Regions from separate parts of the Homo sapiens genome. Here region 1 is linked to region 2. Evidence: promoter capture Hi-C in human tissues and cell types (Jung and others, 2019). All regions are on one chromosome and are shown on one strand. The core of a region is centred on a gene start or on the middle of the fragment in contact, and the rest is flanking DNA. Distances in the headings are between cores, read along the strand shown.

Evidence for each region. The method cuts DNA at HindIII sites, captures the fragments that hold promoters and counts their contacts. A contact is called where the count stands out against the background at its distance.
Region 1: a contact is called between a fragment that was not itself captured here and the fragment with the promoter of ESRP2 in region 2, in 1 of the 25 tissues and cell types used here (pancreas).

Annotation. Positions count from the first base shown.
Region 1 is chr16:69,195,314-69,198,013 of GRCh38, forward strand. The region is part of intron 1 of SNTB2 (syntrophin beta 2); the gene reads left to right. Among named protein-coding and RNA genes, the nearest start is that of SNTB2, 9.5 kb to the left of the region's middle. The HindIII fragment of the contact is 9,382 bases long and covers 1-2,700 here.
Region 2 is chr16:68,234,771-68,237,470 of GRCh38, forward strand. ESRP2 (epithelial splicing regulatory protein 2) reads right to left here and starts at 1,357. Exons shown (of 15, transcript NM_024939.3): 1 at 1,078-1,357; 2 at 864-992. The coding sequence starts at 1,275. RefSeq lists a silencer at 1,305-1,534 and enhancers at 1,556-2,144, 2,145-2,700. The HindIII fragment of the contact is 21,026 bases long and covers 1-2,700 here.

The DNA.
Region 1 (2,700 bases), core at 88-2,587, 960 kb after region 2:
AGGTTGGAGTACAATGGCATGATCATTGCTTACTGCAGCCCTGAACTCTTGGGCTCAGGTGATCCTCTTGCCTTAACCTCTGGAGTAGTTGGGATTACAGGCATGAACTAATTACTGTTCCTGGTTTGCATTTTTTTTTTTTTTTAGTAAGAATTATTTTGGTTGCAGAAACCCAAAACCAACTAATTTAAGCAGAAGTGGAATGTATTGCCTTATGTAACTCCTGAGACCGGGGGTGGATCTAGGTTTAGGTTCAGTGGGATCCAAAGGCTCAAATTATCTTGGCTGCAACATCTCCTGCTGTGGAGGGTCTAATTCTGTATAGTCAGCTAAGATGGTGCCTGCAGCTCTAGGAACATATTGCCTTAACTTAATAACTAACCCCTGTAAGAAAAACTGGAGGGTTCTTTTACCACTCACATTATCAGTTTGGAGATAGGAAGGACTCCAATAGTTCTGCTTTGCCAGTTCCTCGGACCTATCACTATTACCAAAATGATGGAGACTGCAATCTAGACCTGTGTCACGTGCCCATCCCTTGTGTATTGAGGTTGGCAGCCTCACCAGACTATAAAATCTGGAGTGGGGTGGTTGCTAGGTTAACTTATGTACACTATAACAGGCTATAGGGCTTAAAATAATTTTGGCCGGGCATGTTGGCTCACACCTGTAATCCCAGCACTTTGGGAGGTCCAGGTGGAATCACTTCAGCCTAGTAGTTCAAGACCAGCCTGCACAACATGGCGAGACCCTGTCTCTACAAAACATGTAAAAAATTAGCCAGGTGAGGTGGCGAGTGCCTGTGGTCCCAGCTACTTGGGAGGCTGAGGTGGGAGGATCACTTGAGCTCGGGAGATTGAGGCTGCAGTGAGCCATGTTTGAGCCACTATACTCCAGCTTGGGCAATGGAGCAAGACCCTGTCTCAAAAAGAGAAAAAACAAAAGTGGCTAAGTTGTACATTTTTAAAAACAAAAGGAATCAAAATAGATAATAATGACACTTATGGAGAGCTTACTCTGCTAAGCTCTTTATGATCACAACTTTGTTTTTCTTTTCTTTTTCTTTTTTTTTTTTTTTTGAGATGGGGTTTGGCCCTGTCACCCAGGCTGGAGTGTAGTGGTGTGATCTCGGCTCACTGCAACCTCTGCCTCCTGGGTTCAAGCGATTCTCCTGCCTCAGCCTCCTGAGTAGCTGGGATTACAGACACGCGCTACCATGCCCGGCTAATTTTTGTATTTTTAGTAGAGATGGAGTTTCACCATATTGGTCAGGCTGGTCTCGAACTCCTGACCTTGTGATCTGCCCACCTTGGCCTCCCAAAGTCCTGGGATTACAGGCGTGAGCCACCGCACCTGGCCACAACTTATTCTTTTAACAGCCCTGTGAGTCAGGTGGCATCATCCCCATATAAAATATAAATAAATTGAGTCCTGGAAGATTAAACAGTCAGTGCAAGGTTATAGAATTTGTAGGTGATAGAGGCAAGATTAGTTACTCAGATTTATCAAACTACACAGCCTTTGATATTAACCATTATAATAGACTGCCTCTCTGGTGGATCAGTTTGGGTTAAGAAGCTAGCAAGTCTAAAGACAGGATTTATTGTTATGATTGGCTTAATTTTCAGGAAAATTGTGCTTTGGATTCTGTGTTGTTGCATCTATCTGGAGGTTATCCAGTTAATGTCTCTCAGTCTTTTCCTCATTTTTTTTTTTCATGCTGGACCTAAAGCTGTATGTAATTAATCAACTCATATTGAATAACTACACTCTGTTAGACACTCTGAGAGAAATAGAATATGTAAGCCCCAAAGATTTTACTTTTAAGAAGTACCCAAAATGGGTTTGTAAATACTAATAAACTGCACATAAGTGAATCCAAAGTATTTCATACATTATAAGTGGTAGACAAATGCTGAGAGAACTTGGAATAAGTGAGCAAGTAGTAGGAATGTATTTTGGGTCAAGTGAGAGAAGGGTGGGACATGGAATAGGTGTGGGTGGTGGGAAGGATGGAGGGCATGTTTAGAGGGGAAAGGCATGTCTAGAGAGCAAAGACTGGAACAAGCAGTGATGTTCAAACTTCAGCAAACAGATTTGATGAAATAGCCCATTTTCAAGGCTCTGTACCCCTTTTTAAAAATAGTTTAAATATTTTATTAGTAATATAACTGACTTCTGAAATATCTTGTAATAATTGTATTCATTATCTGCAAACTGTTTTGTAATGTAAAAATTAATTTTTCTTTTGTAATTATTCTAGCCAAACTTTTTTGTTACTGCTTTTACTTTTGATATATTACTATGTTATTTTACTTTTGGAAAACACCAGTTTTAACAAAGTAGCATTCTCCAAAGTATATTCATCTTTACAAGTAAATCTTTGCCCAAATGAAACAAAATCTGTTTTACTGAACACTAAATGTCTTTGATTTGCCTCATTTTGCTGTAATTGTTGGCCAGTAAAAGTATTTACATTGTTAGCTCTGTTTTCATTGCAGTAAGGGATGGCAACATTTTAGAAAACCACTAGTAGTGTAGATAATTTTTTTGAGTACTATGGATTCTGTATTGTCTCTTCAAAGATTATTAATTACATTCTAGGATAAAAATACATATTTTTTACAATGAACACAAAGTAATTGAAAAAATTAAACTGGCTCTGGGCAAATACAAATTCTGCTAAAAACAGCAATGAAA
Region 2 (2,700 bases), core at 107-2,606:
CTGTGACACTTTACAACTTGGGGCTGACAGAGCAAGGCAACCCAGCTCTCCTCCAGCAAACTCCCCAAGTGAAGGGCCGGGAGCCCTTCTGGAACAGACAAGGAATCATCATCGTGGTGCCTCCTCATCAGGAACCACAAGAGTTGTTGGAAGATGAAAGAACGTGAGTGTATAAAAAGGACTTACACTAATTACACTCAAGAGTCAGACATAGAATGAGCGCCGTAGTGAAGATAAGGAAAAGAAAACAGCAATGGAAACCACCTCCCACTTCAGCTAGGGCAGGAGGCACCCCAGGCCTTTGCACTCAGCAGGCAGATAGTCCCCCAGGCCAGGCCGGGACAGCGCCCACGCCTGGCCAGCCGGCCGGGACAGGCCTAGACGAGCAGTTTACACCTGGCGGCGTCTACCTCTAGGGCCGACACCGCCCTACGCCTCCGCTCCAGCAGCTCCCAAGCAGGCCGAAGACGCGGGCCGCAAGGACAGGTGACCTATATGGGCCCCTCGACCCCTTTCGCTTCCGGCTGCGGCTCAGGGAGACCTGACCCAGCAGGTCTCCCAAAGGCGTCTCGGCCTCGCTCCCCGGGCGGGAACTGGGGATGGATCCCAAAGCCTGCGTCCCGATCCCTTCGGTAGGAGTAGGTTCCTGCAATGGTTGAAAAGTAAGGAGCCCAGGGGAATGGCTGGCACGCGCGGATGAAAGGGGCACGCACACGCGAGAGTCGCTCAAAGTTTCAAACAAGAGCCCAGTCCTGCCGCCTGGACCGGTTGGTTGCGGCACGCCAGGCCTAGCCTCCGGCCGCCAATCCCGCCCAGAAATGTCCTCACGTCCAGGCCATGCCGCCACCCACCCCGGCGCTCACCTGCTGCAGCACCTTGTCCAGCGGCTCTGCCCGCGCCAGGCTGTCGGCGCTCAGGCCGCTCGCCTCGCGGCACTGCGTACTCAGTGCGGCCGCCTCGGCACGAACCAGCGATTTGTGCAGCGTCCCCACCTGTGAGCGGCGGGGGAAACCGATCAGCCGCGCCCCTCGACCCCGGAAGCTCCCTGGGGACCTCACCGCCTCTTTTCCACCCTACCTGGCGGCTCCGCGGCTCAACCACTTGCCAAACTAGGAGGATTAAGTCGGTCTCGTCCGAGCCCAGGTCCCGTCCCAGCGCACCCGCCGTAGCCCCGAAGAGGACGACCAGTGATCCGGGCCAGGGGCAGGGGTCCGCGGCGGGGTCGGCCGCGGGGTCAGGGCCCGGGGGAGGGGGCGGCGGCGGCGGCGGAGTCATGGCCGCAGAGGAAGGGGGCTCTCGGCCAGACACGCGGACCGACGAGGCGCACGCACGCACCGACCGACCGCAGACGCGGATCAGCTTGGGCGGGACACCGTGTATCGGGGGCGGCACCTGCGGCCCGGCTGGCTCAGTGGGCGCTGCCAAGACCCGCCCGTGGCGCCCCGCGGGGCGGGGCGGCTACCGGCCCACGCCCTCTCCAGGCGAGTTACCTGCCGGCCCCGCCGGCCACGTGACCGGGGCGGCTCCGGGAACCTTGGGGGAGGGCCGCCAGAACTCAACCCAGGACGCAAGAGCTCACGCTCCCGGCCTGGGCGCACGCTTAGGATCCGGATTCCTACTTCCAGGGCTGGTCCTGCCTGATTTTGGGGGCTAACCCATTCTTCCGCTCTCCCCCCACTCTTCCCCAGGGGTCGTCAGGCCTCTGCAAAGGAGCGTGCAAGACAGAGGCCTTCTCCAGTATGGAAGTCACCAGGAGGCAGTCTAGGGGCTGTGGGGGTCAACACGGCAGGTCTGGGGTTGATGGAAGTCAAAGGGTCAAGGGGGCGGTGAGAGTTGCCGGGTATCACCCTGTAGGGGGATCACCAGAAGTCACCTGGGAAAGGGGAGGGCGGCGGGAACATCAGCGTTGTTAGAGCTGTGGGGTGGTCACCAGGGATCACAGGGAAGGGCTTGTCCACGCAGATGCTAGGGCCGAGCGCTAGCCTGGCACTGAGAAGTGCCAGAGCGCGGTCGTTGTGGGTTGGGAGTGGGCAGGCCTCAATGCTGGGGAAAGGAACCCCCCAAATCGCAGAGAGCTGCACCCTAGACGAGGCTGAGAGGGGTAGAACGGGCCTGGAGCCTCACTCCTACCCCACGTGTGGGGGCCTGCCTGCTTTCGTCCCTTTCTGGACGGTGGAGAAGCTGCCTGGAGATTGCGAGCGCTCTGGCCGATGGGGGGCTAGCGTTGAGCGTGTGTGCGCGCATGCGGGCTGCAGATCCTCCCTTTTCCATCCCGCACCTACAACCCAATTGACAGCCCCGCATTTGGGGCTCCCATTCCTCCCTTTGCCCAGTGGAGCTTGGTGAGGCTCCTTTATGGCGCGTTTCCCGGCCGTTCCTTACTTTCCCAAACTCTCCCAGGGAGGTGACTGAGAAACTGAATAAGTGACTGAGAAACTGAATAATCCAGCAGGAAGGAGGGGGCTCCAGCGTGGCGGGAACTGAGTCACGCGGTTGCCTAGCCCGACTCGAGACTGAGACGGGAGCCGCACCACGCGCTTTCGGACAAGGAGGGTGCTGCGGCCCGGCCCCTGGACAATGGAGAGAGCGGGGCACCCGGGCGCATCACCAGAGCTCATGCCCGGGAAAGGGGCGAGGCCCGGGGGGAGAGAGCTCAGCGTAGCTCCACTTGGCAGCTAAAGAAACAGGCGCCCGGGACGG